Linked DNA regions of Homo sapiens: region 1 is linked to region 2. Evidence: promoter capture Hi-C in 16 types of primary human blood cells and fetal thymus (Javierre and others, 2016). All regions are on one chromosome and are shown on one strand. The core of a region is centred on a gene start or on the middle of the fragment in contact, and the rest is flanking DNA. Distances in the headings are between cores, read along the strand shown. Region 1 holds the start of MMP27 (matrix metallopeptidase 27). Region 2 has its middle 18 kb from the start of MMP12.

Region 1 (4,637 bases), core at 1,250-3,749, 190 kb before region 2:
AAATGAAATACTCTTACATATACTATAGAATTAAATTCCTTTATCTTCCCTATGAATCAGTAGTATTAACACTTCAACAAAGGAGGCTGAAAGAGGTTAAATGACTTCACTAAGATCACATCCCAAGACAGCATTTATCTCATGTACGTGTTGGCTTGTATATGAAAGTATTATAAAGACATTCTTAAAAAGAACTGAGAATCATTTTTTTGAATGGCTTGTAGAAATCAGTCTTGTGCATGTACCATATATTAAGAACTTTTTTTTTTTTGAGACAGAGTCTCGCTCTGTCCCCCAGGCTGGAGTGCAGTGGCGCGACCTCGGCTCACTGCAACCTCTGCCTCCCAGGTTCAAGTGATTCTCATGCCTCAGCCTCCTGAGTAGCTGGGACTACAGGCGCGTGCCACCAGGCCCAGCTAATTTTTGTGTTTTTTAGTAGAGATGGGGTTTTGCCACGTTTGCCAGGCTGGTCTCAAACTCCTGAACTCAGGTGATCCGTCTGCCTCAGCCTCCCAAAGTGCTGGGATTACAGGCATGAGCCACCACACCCAGTCCATATATTAAGAATCTTACATGAGAACCACAAGAATTGCTCAGGAAAAGATTTTTCTCGTTTATGTTGCCTATCTTGCTAAATTCATTTTTATCTCAAGTCCTAGCACTCAGTAAGATGAAAGAAGAACTATCAGAAAGGCTGTAGAGTGATGGTCAAGGTGACTGTCTCTGTCTCAGATCAAAGGCATACCTCATCCTCTTCCTGCCAATGAGTCAGCCTGCCCCCTTTTCCTTGAGATGTCTGAGGGAAACACCCTACTTTGCTCTGAGGGGCTCATCTGAGATTTGGCAACTCTCTCTCTCACACACACATGTCTCTGACATAAACTGGTTGTGTTCCAGGGTCTCCCCATTTTCTCTTGGGCACCCTTCATTCATGCTGTCAAGTATCTGCAGTCAGATGACAGTATTTGTTGGGAGCTTATATGATGGTGGCAGAGGCTAGAGATGAGAGCATGTCTGCTGGAGCCAGTAAGAGCTGTGTAACCTCAGCCACGGTAAATAAACTTTTGTTTCAGTTTCTCTGTATTTAAGATGGTGGTAGCAGCAGAGCCTACAGCACAGGTTTGTTGGGAAGATACCGTAAATGGAGCCTAAGATGTGCTGTGCACACAGGAAGTGCTCAGTCAATTGAATGAATATTATTCTGTTCCTTGGAAATTATCTTTATGTTCCTTTGGATTAGGCGGAAATAAGCTGGCAGAAGCATTACCTGTAGGTGAGGTTGTATTTTCTCCACCCAGGGAGGGTGTAGCCATACTGGCCCACATCAGGCACCCCACACCTGGGTGTCTTCATGATCTCAAGGGTGTTTGAGTCCAGTTTTCCAGTCACTGTCAATCCAAAAAATGCTTGCATTTCCCGAATTTTGTCATCTATGAGACTCCTATTCTTGCTTTGAACAAGATGATTCCCTTCTATTTCAAGAGAGTAGAACTGGTTGAGATATGCCTGACCAAAAAGATAAGAAAAAAAAAAAAGAGGCACAGACTACAGGAGAGCAAATCTCCATCTCAGGATAAAGCAAAATTGCCTAAAATTCCTTCTGGCAATAGGAAAGGGGAAAAAAAAGAAGTAATGAGAGAAAGTGAGGAGTGAAGGAGGAAAGAAGAAAGGAAGGACACAAAGAGGAAAATAACGAGTCACCCTGCTCTTTCAATTTCCAAGACTTGGTTGACTTATGAGTGACCAGAATTAGCCAAAGCACGCAGCTCTTAAACCTCCACAGAAGAGAATGAAGCTTCGTCTGTCTGTTGAATGATGACCTATCTTACATATTTTTGCTGTTACTTTCATTTTGGTGTTTCTTTGAAACAAGTTCTAGGATAAATAAGTGATTATCCATTTTGCACATGTATTTGCTTTAACCAAAAATAAAAAGTTAACTGAACTGATTTTTAGAGGGAATCTGTAAAGCAATGTATTTTTTTTCATACATATAGGGATTAGGGCTCCAAATTGTAGATTGGGTCCTCCTGGTTGTCTTGAAATGCTTTTATAGTGATCTCCATACCTTGCAGGGCTCTCTCCTTTCTCCTCGCACTAAACATCCCTTCATTTGTGACCATTGCTAAAAGTTATAGCAGATCCTTTCCCCCTCCCTGTGCCAGCCCTCCTCCCCAACACAATTTCCTGATATCGTCAGAGATAGACAAATGAAAAGCAGTTCCTTCTCACAAAAAAGTTCAGGACTCTTTTGCAGGAATGTGTTTTCTTTTTAGGTCCCAAGAGAATCAATAAAATAAGCTTTTTATCAATAGTCATCGATATCATTTATTAAGACAGTACCTGAGCCAGTTGCATATTTTCTTCATTTTCCGTCATCCGGACTAAGGGAAATGCAGAAGAAAATGTTATAAAGAACAAAAACAGAAGCAGAAGGCGCTTCATTCCTCTCTTTCTTCAGCTGAAGCCGGTTCTGTTAGCACAGAATTTAGAAAATAATAGTGAGACGTGGCATGAATTGGCTTGTATCATCATTTAATTAATAACAGAAAGGGACACTTGCCATAAAGTGTGTCATGATTTGCTTTTTTTTTTTTTTTTTTTTGACTGAGCTGATTTTGTAATCTTGGCCTGCAATTGTTTAGTAAACACAGTTAGTGCTTATTACTGAATTGAATATACTGGGAAGTGAGCCTCCAAGTTATTTTTTTTTCCTTGCAAAGTTTTCTTTTGAAGGCAATCTCAGAATATCTTGGTAGGATGTTATCATAAAAAGACAAATGAATCAGGAGTCAGATTACCCTTATTAACTAAGATAAACTTCAAATGTTTATTGAATTCCTACTGTTTGCCTGCCCCTGTGAATGCAATCTTGTTGGAGAATTCAGACACATACAGAAATTAATGTAGGACAAAAAGGAGGCAAGTGGGCAAATACACAGTGCAGATTGTAAAGACTAAGAAGGGCCAAAGGCAGATCATTGCTTATGAGTGTGGCCTTGAGGTTTTATGCAAGTTAAATACAGCCTGCACTGGGGCTTGCACTAGGGCTTGCTCTGGGTTTTGGAGAATGTGTAGAATTTGGATTTACAGAGGAAGGAAGAAGAAGTATGAGTGCAAAGAGGCCATGGGAAGGAGGTAACACAGCAGAAATAAGCTGCAGGAAATCTGGCCTGACTGGAACAAAATACATATGTAGACAGCTATGGAAGATGGGATGGAGGGTCTCATGGACAAGACAGCTGACTGGGAAGATGAAGAGTCATAGAGGTCATGGATGATGAAGGCCAAAATTAACATCAGAAGTGAGAATATAGTTAGTGAGAGCCTTTTGGATTAATTTCAATATATTCTTCTTTACTTGGGCTACTTTTAGATGAAGGAACAGTCTTAGTTACAGCAATGTCCTCCCTCACTTGTCCTCCCCTTTTCTTCTACCAATTATTAAAATTTTCTTCCCTTTCTTCCCAAATGTTAACTCCTCAATCGATACACCTTTCTAAATCTTCCTTGTCCATATCCTAAACAAAATTTATATGGCATAGCTGAGGAACTTATAGGATCTAAGTAGATACATACTTCCTTTGCATTTAAAGCTCATCCCAGTTATAAATCTTGTTTCAGAAATATTATTATTTACTGTTTTAATATATGTATATAGTTTAAATTGTTTAATTGGCCTCTGGAGCAATGGGATGAAGGGGAGAAGGCAGACATGATCAGGATTTGTGTTATAATGGTATTAAGTACAAGTATGCTAAGTACAAGTATGCTCATTGTATTGTTCTTTTGTGTTTTTTAAACTCTAAAATATTTCAGAACAAAATTTAAAAAAAAATAGAGTTACCAGAAAAAGGGAAGTCAAATGGTGCTATCTTGTTGTAACGAAAAAGCATCTCTCTGCCCTAACCTTTCGCTCCTTCAAGTCCTGCTCCCCAAAGGTAACTTCTTTAAATTATTTTTATAGCTTTTTATCTTTATGTTTAACTCCACATTTGTAAATAACGTGCTTATGCTACTATTTCTCGAGTTTTCAAAGTTAAATGTTATTATTAACATCTTCCTATGGAAAAGAAGGACTTAACACTCCTTCTGCTTTCCTAATTTGGTTATAGGAATGTTTAAGCCCGTAATCAGCGTTCATACAATTATGACCATGAAAATATTATTCACAAGAGAATCACGTAGTATACTATGATTACATATCCTTTTCTTTTTTTTCCCTTTTTTTTTGAGACGGACTCTCGCTCTGTCACCCAGGCTGGAGTGCATTGGCACAATCTCGGCTCACTGCGACATTTGCCTCCCGGGTTCAAGCAATTCTCCTGCCTCAGCCTCCCATGTAGCTGAGACTACAGGCATGCACCACCATGCCTGGCTAATTTTTGTATTTTTAGTAGAGATGGGGTTTCACCATGTTGACCAGGCTGGTCTTGAACTCCTGACCTCAGGTGATCCACCCCCCTCAGCCTCCCAAAGTGCTGGGATTACAGGTGTGAGCCACCATGCCTGGCCTTACATCTCCTTTCTTGTATAGCCTTTTTTCTCCGCAGTTGATAGTTGAATTGATTTTTATATGCTAATTCTTTACCAAATTCTTCCATAGAACTCTTAAACTCTCTCAGAATAACCAAACA
Region 2 (4,758 bases), core at 190-2,689:
GGATCCCAGAAGGGACACAGGTGGGGAACACACCCTTTTCTTTTTTTTTTCTTTTTGGAGACAGGGCTCACTGTGTTGCCTAGGCTGGAGTGCAGTGGTGTGACCATAGCTCATGCAGCCTCAACCTTCTGGGCTCATGTAATCCTCCCACCTCAGCCTCTTGAGTAGCTGGGACCACAGACGAGCCCCACCACACCCGGCTACACCCTTCTTCTGAATCCTAGAATAAATCAAAGAGAATCTTAAATCAGGTGAGAGTGTGAGGGAAGGCAGAGGGTGAGGAAGTTGAAGCCCACAGAAGTGAGAGAGTGTGCAACGCCCAGGAGGATTAGGGTGACACAACTGAAGCGCAGAGGTGTTTGTGTGTGTGTGAGAGAGAGAGAGATATGGGTCAAGGATGTTTCTGGAGTGGGAACTGCAGAGGAATGCAGGAGCCCAGATTCTGCTAAGGAGTTCCAATTCAGTCTTGACAGCACTGGGAACCACTGAAGAATTTAAGTAGAGGCAAGGCATGGTCATATTTGCGTTTAGAAACGTCATTCTGGTCACCTTGCGGAGACTGTGTAAGATACAGTCAGAACCCAATTTATCAAGGTCAAATTTCTTCACTTGTCAAAGTCCTTACCATCTGCCCCCTTCCTCCTTTTCTTGCCTCTTCTCCCACAGTTCCCTGCAACCAACACTGCCAGCCTTCTATTCCTATCCCTCTGACTTTGCTGCTGTAGTTACTTCTTCCTGACAAAGAATTTTTCTTCCTCTGTACCCCTTGATCTCTCCAGATCTTAACCTCCCTCCACCTCTCAGATACTCCCAGCCACAGTCCCATCTCCCAGCCACAGTCCCATCTCCCTGCTTTTCATGCTCCTAGGAATTGTGACTTTGCTTTATATCTGCCTGTGGTCCCAGCTATCACCACACACCTACAAAAAGCAAAACTCAAGATGTGCTGTTTCAAATGATAGTGACTTAAAATTATGATCCAGGCAGGGTTTTAATACCTTAATACCTGCCCTGAGATGGATGTATCCCCAAGTGGTGGATGTGGGTTGGATTGTGTAATTTCCTGTGGGCAAAGCTTCTTTTTCACCTAGATAAACTCTGAAGCTCTCTTCCTGGAGTTCCATTTTATTAGCTTACACAAGTGTACTCCCTGTTTTTAAAAAAATTATAGTTTTACATTTTATTTTTTATAGAAGTGGAGTCTCACTATATTGCCCAGGCTGATCTCAAACTTCTGGGCTCAAGCGATCCTCCAGTCTTAGGCTCCCAAAGGGATTTGGGATTACAGGTGCAAGTTACTATGCCTGGCCTGTACTCCCTTTTAAAGGTTGATTTTTTGATGTAAAAGAAAGCTTTACCATTTATTTTTACTTCAATATGAAACCTTCTCATGTGCTTTTTCTTTTTGGTGTTTGAAAGCAACCTAGCTAGAGAACAATGATAATGTGGGGCTGAGAGGAAACATCAGAAATCTGAGGTTGGAGAGGAAATGTACATGATAGGAATGGAAGCCACCAAGTCAGAAGACAAGCTTCCCAAACTTCTTCATGGTATAGGGCAGTAGTAGAGCTCAGGTTCTAGAGCACTGTTTCTCAAAGTGTGGTCCCAGACCAGCAGCATCAGCCTTTCCTAGGAATTTGTTAGGAATGCAAAATGTTGGTTTCTTTCCCAGACTTCTTGAATCAGAAACTCTAGAGGTGGAGTCCAGCAATGGCAGTTTGGGGACCACTGCTCTAGCATTTAAAGGAAGGATCTACAGAGGATTTGCGCTACAGCCTGCCTTTAGTTTTTTTTCCCTTTTTCCCTCTTTCCCTGCTCCTAGGCAACAAAGATAAAAATATAGTAAAAACTAGGTGCTTCTCTGAATGGCTGGATTTGAAGAAGTTCTATTTTAAAACTGCATTTAAAAAAAAGGGCCAGGTGGTTCACACCTGTAATCCTAACACTTTGGGAGGCCGAGGCTGGTGGATCACTTGAGCCCAGGAGTTTGAGACCACCCTTAACAACATAGTGAAACCCCATCTCTACAAAAAGCTGAGTGTGGTGGCATGTTCCTGTAGTCCCAGCTACTCAGGAGGCTGAGGTGGGGGAATCACTTGAGCCCAGGAGGTGGAGGTTGTAGTGAGCTGAGATTATGCCACTGCACTCCAGCCTGGGTAATAGAGTGAGACACCACCTCAAAAAAAAAAAAAAAAAAAAAAAACACCAACAAAAAAAACTCATTGATTACCTGCAGGGCACCAGCCACTGTCTGAGGCACAGTAAACAGAAAGAGAGTAACTATCCCTGCACTAGAGGAGGCCTGCTCAAGGCAGTATGTGTGTGTGTGTGTTTGTATCCGTGTTGGGATGGGGATGAAGTGGAAAGTGGGAAAGGCTTTTTGGAAATGATGAATCCCAAATTGCGTTTTGAAAAGTCGATTGGAGCACGAGGTCAAAGGTAGGAAGATGCACTTTAGCCAAAGGACCAGTTGTAGAAATGCTCAGTAATTCCCTTGTGAATATTTTGATCCAGAAAGATATACTAGAGCATTGCAGAAACGCAGCTGCCCAGGAGTTTGGTTTTTACTGCCTGACTTCACTTTGATTTCATGGCTTGGATGAAAAAGAGACATCTACTTCCTAGTTTCTCTCTATCTTAAAGTTCAATATTGAATCCAACTCTATTTTCTGGCTGTCTTTCAAGGATTTTCCTGAGTCTTCTGTTCCCACTGTTTCTGCCTAGATCTTCCACATACTAGAAGCACCAATCTCCTCCAACCATCTACAGCTCCCTGTGACCAAGATCATCGTGGGCAAAACTGATTCTTCTAATCAACATTTATCACACTTGCTTTTCACCAATGAACTTGGTCTTTAGAGCATTTACAAACAAGTATGAGGTGCCTTCCCTCAGAAAACTCACAACCCAATTAAAGACACAAGACCTAGATATAAAAAATAACAATTTAGACTGCAAATGACTTAGTAAAGAATTATATGAACTGTAAACCCCATAGAAGGACATGGCTTGACAAGTTATGGGCCACAGACCAAATCCAGCCTGCAAGCTAAAAATGGCCCTTCCTTCCACTTTTATTTTATTTTATTGTTGTTGGTTTTTTTTTTTTTAAGACAAGGTCTCACCATATTGCCTAAGCTGGTCTCAAACTATTGGGCTCAAGTGATCTTCATGCCTCAGTTTCTTGAGTACTGGGATGACAGCACATGTCACTGACCCAGGTTCCATTTTTAAATGGTTGAAAAATGAAATAAAAGTAATACACAGAGACACATGAAAACTATATGAAATTCAAATATCAGTATCTACAAATAAAATTTTATTGAAACACAGTCATATGCATTCAATTATATATCATCTATGGCTGCTTTCTTTCTCCAAAGGCAGAGTTGATTTTTTTTCTTTTTTTGAGACAGAGTCTCACTGTGTGATATGGTTTAGCTGTGTCCCCACCCAAATCTCATCTTGAATTGTAACTCTAACAATTCCTATGTGTCATGGGAGGAACCCGGTGGGAGGTGATTGAATTATGGGGGTGAGTCTTTCCTGCACTGGTCTCCTGATAGTGAATGTGTCTCACAAGATCTGATGGTTTTAAAAAGGGGAGTTTCCCTGCACAAGTTCTTCTTCTTTTGTCTGCTGCCATATGAGACGTGCCTTTCACCTTCCACCATATTTATGAGGTCTCCCCAGCCAAGTGGAACTATAAGTCCACGTCTTTATCAGCAGTGGGAAAATTGACTAATATACTCTGTTGCCTCAGCTGGAGTGCAGTGGCATGATCTTGGTCACTGCAGCCTCCACCTCCAAGTTCAAGAGATTCTCCTGCCTCAGCCTCCTGAGTAGCTGGGACTACAGGTGCACGCCACCACACCTGGCTAATCTGTGTATTTTTTTTTAGTAGAGTGGGGGTTTCACTATGTTGGCGAGGCTGGTCTTGAACTCCTGATCTCAAGTGATCCTCTCGCCTCGGCCTCCCAAAGCACTGGGATTACAGGTGTGAGCCATCACACCCAGCCCCCAGTGGCAGAGTTGAGTAGTTGCAACAAAGACCATATAGCCTATTTTCCAAACTGTGATGCTCTGCTTCCCTTTTAAACATAAGTTCCAATTACAAATCTATCTTTGTAAATACATAAAACTGAATGCTTTTAACAGCACCCATCCCCTCTTGAATGCTTGCCTGCTTAGAAATTTCTTCTACCAGATGCCCTAAATCATCTCCTTCAAGTTCAAAGTTCCACAAATCTCCAGAGCTGGGACAAAATGTTCCCATTCTCTTGGCTAAAACATAGCAAGAGTCACCTTTATTCCAGTTCCCACATGTTCCTCACCTCCGTCTGAGACCACCTCAACCTGGACTTCATTATCCATATCACTATCAGCATTTTGGTCAAAGCCATTGAACAAGTCTCTGGAAAATTCCAAACTTTCCCACATCTTTCTGTCCTCTTCTGAGCCCTCCAAACTATTCCAATCTCTGCCTGTTACCCAATTCCAAAGTTGCTTCCAGATTTTCAGGTATCTTTACAGCAGCACCTTACTCTACCAGTACCAATTTACTATATTAGTCTGTTCTCATTCTGCTAATAAAGACATACCTGAGCCAGGTGCGATGGCTCATGCCCATAATCCCAGCACTTTGGGAGGCTGAGGCATGTGGATCACTTGAGGTCAGGAGTTTGAGACCAGCCTGGCCAACATGGTGAAACCCTGTCTCTACTAAAAATACAGAAAAATTAGCTGGGCATGGTGGTA

What was found. Contacts are between HindIII fragments. The CHiCAGO score rates a contact against its expected background, and 5 or more counts as called.
Region 1: the fragment with the promoter of MMP27 here is called in contact with a fragment that was not itself captured in region 2 in 1 of 17 cell types (M1 macrophages); the score reaches 5.8 in M1 macrophages.

Annotation. Positions count from the first base shown.
Region 1 is chr11:102,703,270-102,707,906 of GRCh38, forward strand. MMP27 (matrix metallopeptidase 27) reads right to left here and starts at 2,500. Exons shown (of 10, transcript NM_022122.3): 1 at 2,344-2,500; 2 at 1,268-1,506. The coding sequence starts at 2,445. The HindIII fragment of the contact is 3,149 bases long and covers 2,300-4,637 here.
Region 2 is chr11:102,890,263-102,895,020 of GRCh38, forward strand. No RefSeq gene overlaps it. Among named protein-coding and RNA genes, the nearest start is that of MMP12, 18 kb to the left of the region's middle. The HindIII fragment of the contact is 179 bases long and covers 1,351-1,529 here.